2 separate regions of the Homo sapiens genome follow, and region 2 is linked to region 1. The links are contacts of gene promoters, found by promoter capture Hi-C in blood cells and fetal thymus (Javierre and others, 2016). All regions are on one chromosome and are shown on one strand. Each heading gives the region's core, a stretch centred on a gene start or on the middle of the fragment in contact. The rest is flanking DNA. Distances are from core to core; before and after follow the strand shown.

The links. Contacts are between HindIII fragments. The CHiCAGO score rates a contact against its expected background, and 5 or more counts as called.
Region 2: a contact is called between a fragment that was not itself captured here and the fragment with the promoter of TMSB10 in region 1, in 1 of 17 cell types (M0 macrophages). The highest score is 5.3, in M0 macrophages.

The regions. Positions count from the first base shown.
Region 1 is chr2:84,903,589-84,907,834 of GRCh38, forward strand. It overlaps TMSB10 (thymosin beta 10), which reads left to right and starts at 2,068. Exons shown (of 3, transcript NM_021103.4): 1 at 2,068-2,130; 2 at 2,415-2,529; 3 at 2,801-3,083. The coding sequence starts at 2,430. The coding sequence ends at 2,835. It overlaps LOC105374836 (a long non-coding RNA gene), which reads right to left and starts at 3,433. Exons shown (of 2, transcript XR_940308.3): 1 at 3,075-3,433. RefSeq lists a silencer at 1,825-2,364 and enhancers at 2,331-3,530, 3,335-3,394. The HindIII fragment of the contact is 2,703 bases long and covers 1-2,687 here.
Region 2 is chr2:85,274,836-85,279,081 of GRCh38, forward strand. All of the region lies in intron 3 of TCF7L1 (transcription factor 7 like 1), which reads left to right. Among named protein-coding and RNA genes, the nearest start is that of TGOLN2, 51 kb to the right of the region's middle. The HindIII fragment of the contact is 1,600 bases long and covers 1,355-2,954 here.

The DNA of each region.
Region 1 (4,246 bases), core at 818-3,317:
TTACATGGCATATTGCAGCAGAAGTTAACCAATGCACTCATCAAATATAAGTGTGATATTCTAATGAGGTTGCTATTTGAAGTATCCACTTGAGGCCAGGCACAGCGGTTCACACTTGTAATCCCAGCTCTTTGGGAGGCCAAGGAGGGCAGATCACTTGAGGTCAGGAGTTTGAGACCAGCCTGGCCAACATGGTGAAACCCCGTCTCTACTAAAAATACAAAAATTAGCCGGACATGGTGGCACGTGCCTGTAATACCAGCTACTTGGGAGGCTGAGGCACAAGAATCGCTTGAACCCGGGAGGCGGAGGTTGCAGTGAGCTGAGATTGCACCACTGCACTCCAGCCGGGGCAACAGAGTGAGATCCGTCTCAAAAAAGAAAAAAAAAAAAAAAAAAAAGCTGCAGTGACCTGTGATCCCACCGCTGCACAGAGACCCTGCTAAAAAAAAAAAAAGAAAGAAAAAGTATCCACTCTATGCCTCTTCTTTATCTCACCTCAGTTTATGCCAAGGCTATTTTATAGATGAAGAAACTAAGGAAAAGATTTGCCCAAGGTCACACAAGCCTATGCTCTCTTCCCACTGTTCCAAACTGAAGGAACGTGAGAAAAGCAGGTAAAATCAGGAGGGGAGAAGCAGGGAGTGGTGCTCAGGCTTGTAATCCCAGCACTTTGGGAGGTTAAGGCAGGCAGATGGCTTGAGCCCAGAAGTTCGAGACCAGCCTGGGCAACATGGTGAAATCTCGTCTCTACAAAAAGAACACAAAAGATTTGCCGCTAGTGGTGGTGCACGCCCGCAGTCCCAACTGCTCAGGAGGCTGAGGTGGAAGAATCACTTGAACCGGGGAAGTCCAGGCTGCCATAAGCCGTGATCACACCACTGCACTCCAGCCTGGGTGACAGAGTGAGACCCTGTCTCAAAAAAAGTAAATAAATAAAATCAGGACCGAATTTAGGATGTCACCACCAAATCCCACTTTAAAGAGCTCGGTAATACTTCACACTTAAAAAAGGAAAGGTCAGGACAAATAAAAGAATGACCAGCCTTAACTCCGGGGCTGGTAATTTATGGAACTTATTACCTAACGGTGTTGCACAGGCTGAAAATACAACTTTTCTAAGAAAGATGTGAATAATTGCAGTATACCACTCCTACAATGGGTTAATAAGAAAAACAAGAACGTTTGTAGGCATGTGGGTCTCTATTATCCTCAAGGTTAACTTCAAGGAGGAAAACCGCACCCGCTGATACAGTGTTTCTAGGAGCTCGACGAGAAAAGGCAAACTGCGAGCCTTCTCGGGACGCCCTGTTCCCACCACAGCCCTTCACACAATGCGTCTAACAGCATTTAAGGAACACCCGCCACGCCAACGATCCTGCTGGAACCGCCCAGTTCAGGGAACAGGGGACGACTGACCAGAAGGCAACCGCCCCCAACCTGAGCAAAGAGCGCTGGAAACCTATTCCCCCCTCCCCCTACACCCCCCCGCCCCCCGCTCCACTACGGGACCCTCGGCTCGAATTCTTTTAGTGCAGGACCACCTTAGGACTCAGCCTCCCTAAGGAGAGGAAAAGTGGGGGAGGGAAGGGGACTCTGGAGGAGCAAAAGCAAGAGGCCTGGGGGCGACTGGGGTGGGGCGTCTCCTAGAGCGAGGATTGCTGCAGAGTGCGCGTGCACGCCCGCACATCCACACCCACGGCTACACATCATATCTGCACACGCACAAAACCACACACCCTCCCACGCCGGTCCCATATCCTTTCTGCGGGGTGAGCAGCAGATTCCCGGAAAGGGGGAAATGTAGCCGCAAAAGCAAAGCCGGGGGCCTGGCGCCCACTCTGGCGGCGACTACAGCCCCCACGCTGGGCACACTGCGAGCTGGGGGTGCCCGGCGCGGGAGAAGCCGCGCCCAGCCGGGCTGGTAGCCCAGCGGGGGGCGCGGCAGGGCGAGGAGCAGCCCGCGCTGCTCCCGCCCCTCGGGTGCCAGCACCGCCCCTGCTGCGGCGGGTGAGGGGCGGGGCGGGGCGCGGCGTATATAAGGCTAGGGGCGGGCGCCGCTCTTTTGTTTCTTGCTGCAGCAACGCGAGTGGGAGCACCAGGATCTCGGGCTCGGAACGAGACTGCACGGTGAGTGCGGCGCCGGGGCGGGGGGCCCACCCAGGGTGTGGTCGGATCCGGTGCACCGGGCGGGCGCGCCGCAACCGCGACAGGCGCCCTTCTCGGACCGGACGCAGGGGCCGGCGACCACGCCCTGGGACCGAGAAGAGGGGTGCGGGACGCGCCCAGATCCTCGGCCTTGGGGCTGCTCGGCACGCCTTGGCGCGAGTGCCACGTCGAGAGGCGTCGGCGGGGAGCGCGGAAGGGGACGCTGGCCCCCAGGCCCAGGTCAAGCGCCTTGGTTTGCCCACTAGGATTGTTTTAAGAAAATGGCAGACAAACCAGACATGGGGGAAATCGCCAGCTTCGATAAGGCCAAGCTGAAGAAAACGGAGACGCAGGAGAAGAACACCCTGCCGACCAAAGAGAGTGAGTGTGCCTCGGTCTCCCGCGCCCCAGCCCAGCCCCTCACCCTGCTCTTCCTTGCAAACCCACTCCTCCACCCCCCACCCCGCCGTTGTCCCCGGTGTGGGCGGCCCCGGCCACTCTTTCAGTTTCACAAAGCGCCTTGTTTCTCCCCAGCCCCAAGCTTCCTTCTAAATCCCCACACCTCGTGGGTGCCTCGCCCACACCGGGAAGCACCTCGGTTGCGGGTGGGGGTTGCAGCTCCCCTCCAGCGCCCGCTTCCCGCTCTCCACAGCCATTGAGCAGGAGAAGCGGAGTGAAATTTCCTAAGATCCTGGAGGATTTCCTACCCCCGTCCTCTTCGAGACCCCAGTCGTGATGTGGAGGAAGAGCCACCTGCAAGATGGACACGAGCCACAAGCTGCACTGTGAACCTGGGCACTCCGCGCCGATGCCACCGGCCTGTGGGTCTCTGAAGGGACCCCCCCCCAATCGGACTGCCAAATTCTCCGGTTTGCCCCGGGATATTATAGAAAATTATTTGTATGAATAATGAAAATAAAACACACCTCGTGGCATGGCTGGCGTGGTCTGAGTCTTTTAGTTGAGTATGCGTGGGCAGTGCCACTGCAGCAAAGCCCCTCGATGGAGTAGAGTTCCTGCCGCAAAGGGGAGGAGGTGGGTCGCAGAATGGGCTGACTCGGAGGGAGTTTTTAATTTTGGCTTTACCTGCTTCTCCGTAAGATTTCATGACTTGTTAGCCACTTAACTCTTGCTCGTAAGCAATCTGTGTAAAATTTAACCCCACTTTGTCCCCAGGTTGCGTTGGAAAATGCTTTTTCAAAAGAGCAAGGTTTGCTTTTGATAAGCTTCGAAAGCCCCACTGTTTCCCTCTGGCCTCCTCCTAGCTGACTCAGAAGGGAACACTGATTTTAAAGAAAGAAAAGACAATCTGGAATGTTGGAAATTGGGTGAGGTCACAAAGTCTCCGGAAGCCTTTCTTCGGGAGCTTAAAACAAAGGCGGGATCTAGGGATACAGCAACGGGAACGTCAGAACTAGAAGAACCAACACTAGAACTGGGGGAGGGGAGGGGGGAAGAGCTTTTGTCTTTTAACCCTAGTTCAGAACCTCCCACAAAAACATTAGCCATTAGAGGAAGTGCTAGACTGATCTGCTACCACCCAGTGCTCAGCAGGAAGGGTGGGGATGTGGTGGGAGGGAGGAAGGGTGGGCTGGCGCTGGCGCTGGCGGCCAAGCTCCAAGGGATGACACCTCAAACCCACAGGGAAGGAATAGGACCAGCCCAAGGGGGCCTGACAGTTGGGAACCTGGGGCTGCAGGCCATTCAGAAGCAGAAGAAACAGGCTTATAAAGACAGGGGTGGAGTTTTCTTTAAGGAAGGTGGATAGGACACTGCTTAGAGATTCGTCCCACATTTTTGCCCGGCCCCAAGAGGCTGGGCACTGGGTGAAGACAGTTAATTCGAATAAGATACGGTCCCTGTCCACGAGGAATTTAAAATCTGGTGAGTGAGATAGCCACAGCAGACCAGAGTCAGGACACCTAGGCTTGGCAGGGAGACTCATGCCCAAAGGCATTCTCTCTGAACTCCTATCTGCACCTCCCTCCTGGTACCTGGACACATACATCACCTCCCCCATTAGAGTAAATAGAGAGACTTTTTTTTTTTTTTTTTTTTTGAGACGGAGTTTCGCTCTTGTCTCCCAGACTGGACTGCA
Region 2 (4,246 bases), core at 905-3,404, 370 kb after region 1:
CACATTTAGTGACTGAACACAGATTTCTTACAAGCTCCCCGCATGCCCCACACTCTGCCTGGTCCTCTCCAGTGTGAGAGGACACTCACACTTGAGTGTGACAGCCACACGTGAGATAATCACTCTGCCAGGCAGTAGGTGTTCTTATTCCTATTTTACATGTGGAAACCAGAGGTTCTGAAAGGTGATGTACACAGGCACACAGCTTGTAAGTGGGGTTCAGCTAGGACCCCTGATTCCGTATTTGTTGAACACCTCAACACGGTCGGCACTCCCAGTGCCCTCTGTGTTTAGACAAACAGCTGAATTTGATTTTTCCTTCCAAAGGAGACCATCTAGTCCAGGCCCCTGCTTCAGGCTGATGAAGTAAAATATTCCCATTTTAAAGATGAGACGATGGAGTCCAGAAAGGTTAGAAAGAGCCTGGAACCCTGATCTCTTGCCTCCTGTGCTCTAAAACGAAAGCTTGGCTTCTGCGGGGGAGCCAGTTTTTAAAAACAAACCTTAGGTCAAATCTAGGAGGCAAAATTGCCAGGTTCTTTGGAATGCGAGGGGAAGAGAATAGTTTTGAGATCATCCACAAAAGAAAGAATCATTTGGGGAAAGCAGAGGAAAGAGGTGTTTATGGTGAAACTGACACCTAATTGACACACTCTTACTTTTGAGTTTACTATTCAGTTATGAAATGCTTTTGGAGCCCCTCTGCTACCAGTGCATGGGCTTTAAAGCCATTTGTTGACTAAATGCTGTGACAGGTGCTAGAGAGAGCAAAGTCACTTCATTGGTTTAAGACCAGTGTAGGCCAGGTGCGGTGGCTCACCCCTGTAATGCCAGCAGAATTGGGAGGTGAAGGCGGGCAGATCACTTGAGCTCAGGAGTTCGAGACCAGCCAGGGCAACATGGTGAAATCCTGTCTCTACCAAAACTACAATAAATTAGCCAGGCATGGTGGCACATGCCTGTGGTCCCAGCTACTTGAGAGGCTGAGATGGGAGGATTGCCTGAGCCCAGGAGGTGGAGGTTGCAGTGATCTATGATTGCGCCACTGCACTCCAGCCTGGACGACAGAGTGAGACTCCATCTCAAAAAAAAAAAAAAAAAATACCTCAAGAAAGAATCTAACCTACCCTCAGGTAAAACAAAAAATGTGTTTGGGATTTAGTGCCATCCACAAAGTTAAGCAAAGGCATAAATGACTCATTCTTAAGAAAGAAGGGATAAGAGTGTAAAACTTCTTTTATACTTTTGCCCCTGGAACTCTTTGTCTAATCCATCTTGTTTGGGAACAAGTTCTTTACACTTTCGTTTTCTCTTACCGACTGCTGAAAACTAAAAATGTTTTCCCAATTGGGAAAGCTTTTCTGTCTCCCTATTCCTGAGTTCATTGCTCAGTGTCAGTGTATTTTCAAACTTAGATCCATTTGTGAACTTTAGTACAGAAGATAGAAACAGGTCTCCAAGAACTGGCCAAGTTGGGCATCCCAGCCTCCATGCTACATTTACGTATTCTCGGCAGACTAAGCCAGTTACTGTGAGAAGCAGGCGTTGCCCATGAGTGAAATGGGCTCCTGTGTGGCGGCTTCCCACCACAGTGACAATGACATTATTCAAAATGCTCTCCTTGTCCTCTTAGAAGCTCTATGTAACAGGAACCTATACTATAACCGTATTATAAATGAAAAATGTGAAGAAGCGATCCGTGTCTCCCCGTCTCCATTCTGCCACAGTTGCAGTCGTTTCTTTCCTGGACTACGGCAAATCCTACCAGAGTCAGCCTTCTAAACACCAGTCACATCTCTCCCCTGCTCTAAAGGCTTCAGGCAGAGGCTGTTCAACCCCTCGTTACAGATGTGGAAACTGGGCCTAAGCTCACGGCATTAATACAGCATGGGACAGGGTTTCAACACATCATGATTGCCGGGTTCTGGGTGAGGAATTGAGGTGCAGCATGACCCTTGAGGAGCTTACCGTCCCAAGGGCAGACAGAGTGTGCAAATGGGGAGGAGTAGCCTGGTGAGTGCTATGGAAACACCGTGTACCGCTTCTCGAGAGCGACAGACTCATGGAGGCTTCATGCCAGGGAGGGTGACCTTGGGAGGAAATGGGTTTTGAAGAAGAGGGGTTAAAGTTTCCCACGAGTGAAGGATGCAGTAAAGGCCGTAGCAGGCCGGGGAGCAGCAGGGCAGCATGGTGCGTTCAGAGTGCAGTGAGGACTCTGTGCAGCTGGGGTGGGGGGCGGTGAGGGTGGAAGCCAGAAGGATAGGGTGGTGTGGGATTGCTGGTGAGTTTGGGGGCTTTATCTCTTGACCCCAGAAACCAACCAGGGAAGTGTTCTGAGCAGGGGAGAGATGTGACTGGTGTTTAGAAGGCTGACTCTGGTAGGATTTGCAGTAGTCCAGGCAAGAAACGACTGCAACTGTGGCAGAATGGAGACGGGGAGACACGGATCGCTTCTTCACATTTTTCATTTATAGTACGGTTATAGTATAGGTTCCTGTTACATAGAGTTTCTAAGAGGACAAGGAGAGCATTTTGAATAATGTTATTGTCACTGTGGTGGGAAGCCACCTGCACCCGGAGTTTGGGTGTAGCCTTGGGTTCTGGGTGGCACTGGGACTTTACATCTCCCGAAAAGCCTGGGCAACCCTTGCTTCTCTATCAAAGGGGATCCTGGCTCTAGGTCCCCAAAGTCACTGTTTACCATAGGGGTCCAGAGAGGCAGGAAGGACCGGTCACCAAAACTGGGACCCTTTGTGTCTGCTGATGGGCAAGTGGCCAAAAATGGGCGAGACCATGGGGCTGGAGCAAGGGGCGCTTTCTCTGCCTACTGGGCCTTTCCTCTAGAAGCAGCGGAAGGCGTTCTCTGGGCTGGAGTTTTCTCACCTGTGCAGTTTTTGGAGCTGACTTGTTTTCCTTGCATGCAACTGTGGGGAGCTGTGGATTCTGTAACATGAAGCTTTGTTTCCTCTGTTGCCCAGGCCCTGCTTAAAGGCTTTTCTGTGAGAACGTGCGAACAGGGAGAATGTGGGCATTCCCCCGAGCCCTGTAGAGTCCTGTCCACACTAAGCAAGTGTGGGACAGGGTGAGGACGGCTGGGGCGGGGCCCTCCCTACCTTCTGGGAGCCGGAGGGTTAATCTCCGTAGCTCATTGGCAGTCCTGCCTCTGTACAGGGCATGCTGGGATTTCCTCCCAGCTGTTTTACATCACGAAGATTTGTGTGTTGGGGAAATTCCAGGGCACAGCTGCAATTAATCTGCTCCATGGCTCCAATCAAAGCAAGGATTCTGTAGGATGGATTCTCCGCCTTCCTGCAGGAAAGGGGGCTCTAGCTCTCTAGTGACAGCATCCTTCAGAGGGACCCTTCCCGAGATCCACGTTGAGCAGAAACAGCCCGCCTGGCCAAGTGCTCGCCCCAAGGAGGGCTCTAAGGAGGGGCCCAAAACATTGAGAAAGAGAGGAGCAGAGCCCCTCTGAATAATAAAGCCACAAGGACACTGATGGCAACACTCGATAAAGATGTCACCCAAAGAAAAGAAAACTTTGTTCACCTTTACTTAGGAATGTAAAAGTCAAAAATTTAAAACATGACTAGCATTCCACAATACAGCGTAAGAAGGAACAAACCACCATGACCAAATAGGGCTTACCTGGGAAATGCAAAAATGCCTTCATGTAAGAAAATCTATTGCTATATATACATCTCATAAATGAGTCAAATAAGAGAAACCACATGACCATTTTGGTAAATGCCGAGAGAAAAATGCAACAACTGCTCCAATGAAAACAATGTAAAAATAGGATTAGAATCATCCTTCCTTAATGAGGTAAAGACATGTTTTAAACCACAGCCTCAGTCTACTTAACTGTGAACCACAGTAGCAGAACCCCAGTCCCCAGAAAAGTGTTTCTCAGATTCAGTGAGATTGGAAAACTGTGTATCTGTCCTGTCTTAGATAGTCACAACATATGTAAATCGAAGACAGTAGTACCTGCCGTTTGGGTTTGGTGTTTTCCTTTCTATTTTTGAGCATCCAAAAGCGGGTATTTAACCCATAGAAAGCACCCCAGAAGTGGGAGCGATCGCTATTGCCAGGCCATCAGTTGCATTGATGCCATTCATCACCATTTCAATGTGTTACATTCCGGTGGGCATCCCCCAGGAGGGAGGTGGCTGGACCAGCCCGTGTACACATCTTCGCTGTGGGCTGAAGCCCAGCCACGACACACTGGTCAGGAGCTGGGCCT